Linked DNA regions of Homo sapiens: regions 1 and 2 are each linked to region 3. Evidence: promoter capture Hi-C in human tissues and cell types (Jung and others, 2019). All regions are on one chromosome and are shown on one strand. The core of a region is centred on a gene start or on the middle of the fragment in contact, and the rest is flanking DNA. Distances in the headings are between cores, read along the strand shown.

Evidence for each region. Contacts are between HindIII fragments. The study calls those that stand out against the background at their distance.
Region 1: a contact is called between the fragment with the promoter of ZNF556 here and the fragment with the promoter of LMNB2 in region 3, in 3 of the 25 tissues and cell types used here (dorsolateral prefrontal cortex, lymphoblastoid cells and spleen).
Region 2: a contact is called between the fragment with the promoter of DIRAS1 here and the fragment with the promoter of LMNB2 in region 3, in 4 of the 25 tissues and cell types used here (IMR-90 fibroblasts, aorta, dorsolateral prefrontal cortex and 1 more).

What each region holds. Positions count from the first base shown.
Region 1 is chr19:2,865,343-2,868,835 of GRCh38, reverse strand. ZNF556 (zinc finger protein 556) reads right to left here and starts at 1,501. Exons shown (of 4, transcript NM_024967.3): 1 at 1,412-1,501. The coding sequence starts at 1,414. The HindIII fragment of the contact is 10,595 bases long and covers 1-3,493 here.
Region 2 is chr19:2,719,934-2,723,569 of GRCh38, reverse strand. DIRAS1 (DIRAS family GTPase 1) reads left to right here and starts at 2,198. Exons shown (of 2, transcript NM_145173.4): 1 at 2,198-2,266. The HindIII fragment of the contact is 24,571 bases long and covers 1-3,636 here.
Region 3 is chr19:2,455,548-2,459,228 of GRCh38, reverse strand. LMNB2 (lamin B2) reads left to right here and starts at 2,270. Exons shown (of 12, transcript NM_032737.4): 1 at 2,270-2,559. The coding sequence starts at 2,296. LINC01775 (long intergenic non-protein coding RNA 1775) reads left to right here. Exons shown (of 2, transcript NR_134931.1): 2 at 129-292. RefSeq lists silencers at 2,172-2,351, 2,472-2,721, 2,782-2,871, 3,102-3,281 and an enhancer at 3,542-3,681. The HindIII fragment of the contact is 70,551 bases long and covers 1-3,681 here.

The DNA.
Region 1 (3,493 bases), core at 252-2,751, 410 kb before region 3:
GAGGTAGGAGAATCGCTTGAACCCAGGAGGCGGAGGTTGCAGTAAGCAGAGATCGCGCCATTGCACTCCAGCCTGGGTGACAGAGCGAGGCTCCATCTGAAAAAAAAAAAAAAATTAGCTAGTCATGGTGGCACATGCTGCCTGTAATCCAAGCATTCTGGGAGGCCAAGGCGGGTGGATCACCTGAGGTCAGGAGTTGGAGACCAGCTTGGCCAACATGGTAAAACCCTGTCTCCACTAAAAATACAAAAATTAGCTGGACGTGGTGGCACACACCTGTAGTCCCAGCTGCTGGGGAGGCTGAGGCAGGAGAATCAATCGCTTGAACTCAGGAGGCGGAGGTTGCAGTGAGCCGAGATCGCGCCACTGCACTCCAGCCTGGGTGACAGAGCAAGACTCCGTTTCAAAAAATAAAAACAAAAAATAAAAGAACAGAATTATCATCTATCACAAATTCTCCATCCTGGAAAAGGAGAATAACTGATATTTTAGCGAGTTTTTGTAATTCACCAAATTATATACCAAACATTTTTTTCTTGTAGGAATGTATTCATTTCGGGGCGTGTCATAATAAAAGAGAGATTTTCTCTCTTTCTCTGCGATTCTTTTTCCCGGGAGCCCCGTCAAGGGCTAAGCCCTGGAATCCCATTTGTCATCACCGAAAATAAAACAACAGATGTGAGAAACTTAACCACACGGGCAAAAAAGGAACAGAAAATAAAAAGAAAAAAAAAAGGCACGCTAGAATTTTTAACAAATGGAATGTAAGACGAGAACTTTATTTTTTTCTGAAATTCACCTCCTTGGAAATATTTTATCTTTCAAACTCTATTATTTACTGTATGTTCCATTGACTGAAAAAATCTGAGGCTCAAGTAACCAAATCAATCTTTAGAAGGAGAGAGGCCCAGGCAGGGGCGGCTGGGCTGGAGTCCGGCCTGCGGGCCTTTGGGGTCAGGCCAGCCCGTGCCGCCACGTGGAGCGCCCGCACCACCTGTCCACCCCTCGCCCCTCCCAGGGACGTGGGCCTGGGCCCAAAGTCTGCATCCAAAGCGCATTCTGCTTTGGGGCTGTTGCACCGCCTCGCTGGGGTGAGGTTTTTTTTTTTTTTGTTTTGTTTTTTGTACTTTGGGTTAGTTTTTCTTCCAATTAACTTCGCGAGACCCCACAGGGCAGGAGTCATTTCTGCCTTTTTTTCCCCTCCATCCCAGCGTCCTGACAACTACGACTTTCCAGGGAATGAAGACTGGGGCAGGGGAGGAAACTCCCCGCAGGACCCGGGGGTGACACAGGGACAGAGGCTGCATGGGGGTTCCGGGCGGCTCCCCCGGGAGTTTCAGCGTGTTCTGGCCGCTTCCAACCCTCCCCTCCCAGGGCTCCGGCTCCGGCTCGGCTCCTGCCCTGCACTCACCATGTCCTGTCCGTTCCTGAGCTCTTTGAGGAGCTCCCTGCTCCTCGCAGCCGGTGCAGGTGAGCACGACGGGGACACCTGTGGTCACTCAGGGCAGGCCGGGTGTGCTCTGCAGGGAGGACAGCAACGCCCCGCCCCTGGGGCTGTGATTGGATGGTTCTCTTCTCTGCTCATCTCTGATTGGAGAGTTCACCAGTCACATCCCAACTCCCCTGATTGGACAGTTCTTTAGACTCTGCCCCTCCTCTTCTGGTTGGTCAGCTTGCTATCCCCTGAGCTCCCCTGATTGGGCAGTTCTTCAGGCCCCACCCCAGCTTTCCTAATTGGTCATGTTTCCACGCCCTGCCTCAGCTCCTTTGATTTGACAGGTCTCCAGGCTCTGCCCCAACCCCCCTGATTGACAGTTCTCATCCGGATGCTCCACCTCAACTCCCCTGATTGGTCAGTTCTCTAGGCCCCACCCCAGCTGCCTGATTGGTCAGTTTTCAGGTCTCGGGTCCTGCAGGCAGCAGCCCCCATCCACGGTGGTCTCCTTCCTGAAATGAAAGTGGTACTGACTTAGAGGGAAACCTGGGCCCTTGGGGTATCCACCGTAGAAAAAAGCAGCTTCTTCTGTCCTCAGTCTGTTGTCAGATTCCATGACACTGGAGGAGGTCCCCTCTCTCTCCTGACCAGTAGACACCTGGGGAGGCCCATGGGGTCAAGTGAGTGACCAACGAAAGCTTTACCATTCCCTAACTAGGGTCAGCACAATTGCTAGAACTGAACTCTTGAGCCATTAGCAATGGTCTAGCCAGCCGGGCGCGGTGGCTCATGCCTGTAATCACAGCACTTTGGGAGGCCAAGGTGGGTGGATCACCTGAGGTCAGGAGTTTGAGACCAGTGTGGCCAACATGATGAAACCCTGTCTTTACTAAAAATACAAAAAATTAGCCGGGTGTGGTGGTGGGTGCCTGTAATCCCAGCTACTCGGAGGCTAAGGGGGAAGAATCGCTTGAACCTGGAAGGCGGAGGTTGCAGTGAGCTGAGATTGCCCCACTGCACTCAGCCTAGGCAACAAGAGGGAAACTCCGTCTCAAAAACAACAACAACAACAAAAACATAGAAAACAAAACAAAACAAAAAAACCGAAAACACACTTAAAAAAAACTGTGGCAACAACTGTATCCTAGGTCAATATTTTGAGGTTAAAGCACTCTGGGGATATTTTGCCTCACAGTTTCTCAAGTAAAAATCAAGGTCACGAATATCTGTGTACCTATGAAAACTCAAACACCACAGCTGAGCGCTCAATGTGCAGGCAGATGAATAGTCTACAGGCAAATGACATATAATCAAGGAGGCATAATCCCTGGAAGCCTGTTGGTAGGGCTGAGAGCAAATAGATTTTATAGGGTCCCCGCCCACCTTTGCAGAGGCTATTCCGTATACTGTGATCACGGAAGCCACTTAAATGCAAATATTCCTTACCAATCCCACCAGACGTTCTCCTGCTGAGCCACAATACAGGGTTTCACCAAGACCCGCCCTTCCCTTGGGGTTACAGATGCTACTGACAGTGATCAAGGTGCTCAGTTCTTTTCTCAAACGACACTGTAGCGAGATTGATAAGGAATCAGAGAGACCGATGGGGTTCAGGAGGATATTTATTATTTAGCTGCACCAGCCCAGTCCGATTAACACCCAAAGGACTGAGCCCTGAACAAAGAGTTAAGTTACCTTTGAAGCATTTTGTGGGGCCGGGGGAGATCTGTGCAGGGGGAAGCATATTACAGAAGCGAGAGACAAAGAGAGTTATTCAATTAATTGAGACGTGCATTACATCATTTCTTACTTTTCAAGGCAAAACATGTTTTGCAACTTGAGTTTATCTGTCTAGTGAACTTGCAGCTGCACAACTAGGGAAACAGGGCCTTCACAATGCCTGGGAAGGGAGGAGAGATAAGGCTCACTAGCCACAGAAAAACAGGCAGTTAATTTTTAAAAGACTCCAGCTCTTTCTTGTTCTCAGGGGGAATTGGGTTTTCTTACATACAACTGAGTTTCTGCTTACACATTCTTTAATCTGTTTTAATTCCTGTT
Region 2 (3,636 bases), core at 949-3,448, 260 kb before region 3:
CCCCTGAGATTTGGATCACGGACCTTTCCATGGAGAGGCAGAGCTGGGGCGCCCACCCACCCCCACTCACAAAGGCCAGGCGGAACCCTCTGCTCCCCGGCCCACCATGGGGGAGAAGCTCCTGCTGTCCTAGTTTGGGTGCTCGGAAGAGCTCACTGCCATCTGTGGCCTGGGCACCGCGGGCCATGTGTGGAGACCCCGTTCCTCAGGGACAGCGAGGAGGGGAACAGGGCCTGGCCTCGCCGGCTCACGCGGCCCACAGCCTGGCCTGGGAGCTATAAATAGCAGCCGCAGCGTGGAGTTACCGCCCTGCCCACTCTCCTACGCATGAGTCAGCCTGCCCCGGCCTGAGCTGGTGCCCGGAGGAGACAGGGAGCCGGCCCGACGCCCTGCCCCACGCTGGTGGGTCACTCAGGAGACGAAGGCAGGCAGGCGGACTGGGAAGGGGCAGGGCTGCCGTCTGAGTGCTTGGGTGCCCAGCAGCCCCGTGTAGGTGGGCGCCCTGCCCATGTGTTCCCAGCAACCCTACAGGCGGGCAACAGTGACGTCACTCACAGATGGGGGAACCGATGCTTGAGAAGGCACTTCCCTGCAGGCAGCCATGTAGAGCAGAAGCTGGGATTTGTCTGCCCTCAGGGCTGTCTCCATCTCCTGCTGAGGGCACCCCCAGATGAGGGTCAGGGGCCGGGCCATGCTCTGAGGTGCTCCCGCAGGGCTGGGGTCAGGGTGGGAGGGAGGTGCACGCCAGGAGCACTCAGGCCGGGCCATGGATGCCAGGCTGAGAAGCTGGACCTTGGCCTGGGAGAAGGGAGCCATGGGTGGCGTTAGAGCAGGGGAGGCCCATGTTGCAGTTGGAGCATTGAGTGGCAGAGTGGAAGGAGGGCTGGAGGAAGGGGTCTGGAGGCCAGGAGGGGGAGTGGGGTCAAATCAGGGAGAAATAGAGCTCCTTGAGCCCCAAAGCCGCTTGAACCTCAGTGCCCCAGCCTCAGTGGCAACAGGAGAGGGGACTGAGTGGTCTTGGAGGCAGTGCCAAGTCTCCGCAGAGGCAGATGGGCCCACCTCATCCAGGGCCATGGAAATGGTGGGTCATGGAGAACCCCAGGAGCTGAGGGCCCAAGGGGTTCACCTGCTCACAGGCCTGGTGATGGGGAGCTCACCACCTTCCAGACCAGCCTCTCACCCACTGATGGCTCTGACTCTGGAGAGACCCCTGTGGGTCCCAGAGTTGGCCTCTCCACCAAGGGGCGCCTTCCTCTGACAGCCTTGCGGCCTGGGACTGTCCCGCACCCACCCCTGAGAGCACCTTCTGGCCTGGTCACTAGACCCCAAAGTCCAGTCTCCTCTGGGATCTGCCCGATGAGGCCAAAAGGAACCTCGGCCTCCCGGTCTCCAAAATGGAGGCGGAACCATGGTCTCTTGTGGACACACAGACGCATCAGAAAAGCCAGTGCTCCCCTAAGACACCTCCTGTTGGGGGAACACAAACATTTTCCTAACCGAAAACGGCAAACCCATCCGCTGCAGAGCAGCGCCAGCCCCCTTTGCTCACCCCCCACCTCCCTAGGCCTGACTGCCATGGGCTGCCTCCGCCTCCACAAAACCAGCCCTACAGAGCGCTGAGTCCGCTTCTGCCCCCATCCCGCCCCTGCCCAGGCCCCTGGGATGGGTGGGCCTCCAGGTGCACCCCATTGACCTGAACCCTCCCGCCTCTGCCCGCTTCTAAACCTGTTCATTGATTGTTGATTATCGACTTACTCATTTCACAACGCACCCCTCTGATTCCCCGCCCTGCGTGTGACCGGGCCCCAGCCGGCCTCAGGGGTCCCGTTCTGCACCCCCTTTATCCGCATTTCTGCCAAAGCCCTCCACCCCCGGCTGGACTCTGCTCCTCCCAAGCCGGGCTCCTGGCCCCCACTCGGGGTTCCCCGGGAAGCGGCCCCAGCTCCCACCCCGAGGGAGGGCGCGCGCAGGTGGCTACGTGGCAGGGCGGGGGTCCCGGATCCTGGCGACCTCTCCCACCCCGGGCGCGGGCAGGGGTCCCGCGTGGGGCGGCGGTGACCTTGGCCGGGCGGCGCGCCGGCCCCGTGGGCGCGGGTCCCCGGGGCGGGGCGGGGCGGGGCGGGGCGGGGCGGAGCGCGGGGCCCGGCGGGCGGGGACGGCGCGGGCGCGACTGCGGCGGCTCGGGCGGGCGGGGGGCGGCGGCGCCAGCGGACACCGGAGCGGGCAGGAGCAGCGGCCGCGGCGCCGCAGGGACCAGCGGGCCCAGGTAGGCGGCCCGGGGCGGGGAGGGGGTCCCTGCGCAGCCCCCAGCCGGCCGTCCTCCCCGCCGCGCGTCCCTCCTTTGTCCCGGCCCCAGCCTCCCGGGCCTTGGGGCCGGGCCCTTCCCCGCGTGGCTCCGGGGCCCCTCGCCGGGCGTCCCCCGTCCCTTCCCGCCGGGCCCGGCCGGCCCCTCCGCGCTCACCTTGGACAGCTCCCGGCCGCCTCCCCTCCCCCACCCGGAGGGCGCCCCCCTGCCGAGCCCGCCCCACCGAGGCCCACCCCGCCGCCCCTCTCCGCATTGGTCCCCTCGGGCAGGGCCTCCTCCCTCCTGCAGCCGCCTTCTTCGCCCTCCGCCCCGCTGCCCAGCCAAGCCCCTCCCTCCGCGCCCCCTCCCCGGGGTGGGCTCCTCCTCTCCACCACTGAGGTCCTCCTGAGTCAAGGGTCGCCCCTGGGCTGGCCCCGCACTGTGCCTCTGCGCCCTCGGGCCCCCTAGAGCAGGCCCTTTCTCCATCAAACCCCTCACCGGCCAGGCGGCCCTGGGTCAGACCCCCGCCCCACCCTTGGTCAGGCGTGACCCCCGCTAGACCCCTGGGTCGCGGCTCTCTCTGCTTTCCTGACCCTGAGCTTTGCTTTGACACCCCCGCCCCCACCAACCACGCCGTGCCCGGCCGGGAGCCGGGCTTCAGGGACCCAGGGCTGGGGTAGATTGGCCCTGCCTGGACGTCTGGGGGTGGGCTGCCCCGCACAGGCGGGAAACCCCAGGAGTCTAGCCAAGCAGGGTGGGCTTCCAGCCCCGCTGTGCGCCTCCACCCCCCTGCTCTGTGACCTTGAGCCAGCCCCTCCTGCTCCTGCCTCGGTGCCCACGACCCCCTCCCTCCACCCGCACCCCCCAGGCGGTGGAGGTGGGAAGTGGCGTGGGCTTCGGGGCTGTTGAGTGCAAGCGCCTTTCTGGTCAGGGATTCCAGACCCAGCGGGGAGGACAGTACTGCTCATGGGGGCTGGAGCTTCAGTGCCCGCAGCAAGGCAAAGGCTGGATCTGGGTCCACAGAACCCATGGCCATTAGGACCCCAGGCCGGTCTTGGTGGCGTCTTTCTGCACAGCAGCGTGCCCGCCTCTCAGGGCGCCCACCCAGGAAAGGGCAGGGTCTGCAGCACAGGCCGCCTCCCCCCCACCACCAGCACCCCCAGCCTCCTCCGAATGCCGAGAAATTACTATGCATGTAGTCCACAAACCCGGCAGCCAATCACATGAGTTGGCATTGCCGAGGCGCCCAGAAGTTTGCCTGGCTCATCACAACTGGGGACTGTGTCAGCTGGCGCTTTCATCAGCCTCTTTTCTTTTCCTGGCAAATCTGTTACCCTTGATAATCCAGAAGG
Region 3 (3,681 bases), core at 1,021-3,520:
GGCAGGCCATTGTTTTAGACAATGGGGTCTCTAGTCCCCAGCAGACCAGATAAAATTGGAATGGAGTCACTAGTGCCAGGTACCACGTAGTCAAACTGATCTTTTATTTTTTTTATTTTTTGAAATAGGGTCTCGCTCCGTTGCCCACACTGGAGTGCAGTGGCGCAATCATGGCTGACTGCAGACTTGAACTCCTGGATGCAAGCCATTCTCCTGCCTCAGCCTCCCGAGGAGCTGGGACTACAGGTGTGTGCCAGCACATGTGGCTAATTATTAAAAATTTTTTTGGCTGGGTGCCGTGGCTCACGCCTGTAACTGCAGCACTTTGGGAGGTCGAGGTGGGTGGATCACGAGGTCAGGAGTTCAGGACCAGCCTGGCCAAGATGGTGAAACCAGGTCTCTACTAAAAATACAAACATTAGCTGGGCATGGTGGCGGGTGCCTGTAATCCCAGCTACTCGGGAGGCAGAGAATTGCTTGAACCCAGGAGGTGGAGGTTGCAGTGAGCCGAGATCATGCCATTGCACTCCAGCCTGGGTGACAAGAGCAAGACTCTGTCTCCAAAAAAAAAAAATTTTTTTTTTTGGAGACAGAGTCTCACTATGTTGCCCAGGATGTTCTCAAACTCCTAGGCTTAAGCGATCTCCCCATCTCAGCCTCCCAAAGTGCTGAGATTACAGGTGAGAGCCACCCGTACCTGGCCTCAAACTGAACTTTAAAGGGTGCAGGTTTTCAAAAAAAAACATTCACAGCCACCAAGCCAAAGGGGACCGGTTAACCTGATAGGGAAGTACCCTCAAAATAGAGGGGGTTAAAACAGACCCTATGAAAAAAGTAACTTTGAAACAACCAATTGGTTTTTATTTCGTATTTTTATTTTTACTTTTTTTGAGACAAACTCTCACTCTGTCACCCAGGCTGGAATGCAGTGATGTGATCAGGGCTCACTGCAACCTTGACCTCTCTTGCTCAAACAATCCTGCCACCTTAGCCTCCCAAATACCTAGGACTATAGGCGCCCAGCTAATTTTTTTTTTTTTTTTTTTTTGAGGTGGAGTCTTACTCTGTTGCCTAGGCTGGAGTGCAGTGGTTCAATCTTGGCTCCCTGCAACCTCCGCCTCCCGGGTTAAAGCAATTCTCCTGCCTCAGCTTCCCGAGTAGCTGAGACTACAGGCATGTGCCACCATGCCTGGCTAATTTTTGTATTTTTAGTAGAGACGGGATTTCACCATATTGGTCAGGCTGGTCTCGAACTCCTGACCTCATGATCTGCCCGGCTTGGCCTCCTAAAGTGCTGGGAATACAGGTGTGAGCCACTGCACCTGGCTAATTTTTTTATTTTTATTTTTAGAAATGGGGTCTTGCTATGTTGCCCAGGCCAGTCTCAAACTCCTGGGCTCAGGCTATCCTCCCACCTCCGCCTCCCAAAGTGCTGGCATTACAGGCGTGAGCAAACCACTGTACCTGGCCTGGCTTTTATTTTAATTCTTATTTCTCCTTTCTTCAGCCTTTTCTGCCTGTAATGCAGAATGCCCATCCTCTCTGCTCAGCTCATTGGAGTGCCTATTTAATAGATTGAATGCTATCCAATTCATGAATTGCTAATAAGAGCCAATGAGATCATTAAACTCAATTTGTTGAAATTCATACTCCTTGACAGCCTCTTCTGGACATTTTATATCAGTGGCATTGTACACTATATGGCTTTTTTTTTTTTTTTTTTTTTTTTTTGAGACAAAGTTTCTCATTGTTGCCCAGGCTGGAGTGCAGTGCCGCGATCTTGGCTTACTGCAACCTCCACGTCCCAAGTTCAAGAGATTCTCCTGCCTCAGCCTCCCAAGTAGCTGGGATTACCGGCGCGCGCCTCCGTAGTAGAGATGGTGTGGGGGGGTCTCCCTATGTGGTCCAGGCTGATCTCGAAATTCTTTTCTCAAGTGATCCACCGGCCTTGGCCTCCCAAAGTGCTGGGATTACAGGCGTGAGCCACCACGCCCGGCCCTATATGGCCTTTTGTGTCTGGTTCTTTGAACACGTTTTGAGGTTCTCTAAGTGGGGAAACAGGTACTAGAAAGCAACCCAACGCTGTTTCCTCGTGGCGGAGCTGGGAGTTTGCAGCCAGGAAGTCTGTCTCTGGAGTCAGCGCCTCTGCGAAGCGAGAGCTGGACGGAGACTTCAACTTCCGGCGTGCCCCGCGCGCGCCCGGCGGTCGGACTACCAGTCCCAGGCTGCCCCGCCGCGGCGGGCGGCGGGCGCGGCGCGGCGCGGCGCCATCTTGCAGCCGGCGGCGCGGATTGAATGAGCCCGCCGAGCCCGGGCCGCCGTCGGGAGCAGCGCAGGCCGCGAGCCGCCGCCACCATGGCCACGCCGCTGCCCGGCCGCGCGGGCGGGCCCGCCACGCCGCTGTCGCCCACGCGCCTGTCGCGGCTGCAGGAGAAGGAGGAGCTGCGCGAGCTCAACGACCGCCTGGCGCACTACATCGACCGCGTCCGCGCGCTGGAGCTGGAGAACGACCGGCTCCTGCTCAAGATCTCAGAGAAGGAGGAGGTGACCACGCGCGAGGTGGGCGCCGGGGCTTAGGGGCCGGGCGGGGGTGCAGCCGGCAGGCCCCGCCCACCGCGGGGCGCGCGATCGCGGGGACCCTGGGCGGGGGTGCAGACGGGGACGGGCCCCGGCTTCGGGGGTTTCCGCGGGGTTTCGGGGGGCCCCTGAGTGAGGGGTGCAGCTCGGCCAGGTCCCTCCCACCGCGGGGTGGGCAATCGCTGGGACCCTGGGTGCAGACAGGGACGGGCCCGGGTCTCGAGGGTCTCCAGGGGGTTTCGAGGGGCCCCTGAGTGAGCGGTGCAGTTCGGCCAGGCCCCGCCCACCGCGGGGTGCGTGATCGCGGGGACCCTGGGCGGGGGTGCAGACGGGGACAGGCTCCGGCTCGGGGGTCTCCAGGAGGTTTGGGGGCTTCTGAGTGAGGGGTGCTGCTCGGCTAGGCCCAGCCCACTGCGGGGCTCCCAGTCGCGGGGAACCCTGAGCTGGGATGCAGACGGGGACAGTCCGGCCTCGGGGATCTCCGCCGCGTTTCGGAGAGTCCCTGAGTGAAAGGTGCTACTCGGCCAGGCCCCGCCCACCACGGGGCGCGCGATCGCGGGGGACTCTGAACGACTCCCGGCTTGGGGTCTCCAGGGGGTTTGCGGGGGGCTCCTGGATGAAGGGTGCAGGTCCTGGCCACCGCGGGGTGCGCGATCGCGGGGACCCTGGGCAGGGGTGCAGACCGGGAAGGGTCCCGGCTTGGGGGTCTCCAGGGGGTTTCAAGGGGTCCCTGAGTGAGGGGTGCAGCTCGGCCAGGCCCAGCCCACCGCGGAGTACGCGATCACGGGGGACCCTGAGCAGGGGTGGGGTCAGCCTGGCCTCGGGGATCTCCAGGGGGAGACCCTGAGTGAGGGGTGCCACCTGGGCAGGCCCTGCCCACCGCAGTTTCCGAGATCTTGGGGGACCCCTTGGGAGGGGTGCAGACCGGAGTGGCCCATTCTCTTGGGGACCTCCAGGGGGTTTCTAGGGCACTGAGTGAAAAGTGCAGACCAGGAATGCCCCACCTATGGAGGGGGTCCCAGGAGATCTTCCGTGTCCTGAGTGAGGGCTGCAGAGGGGCCTCCAGCTAGCTCTGGGGACCCTTCCGTGAGAGGTGCATTTTGG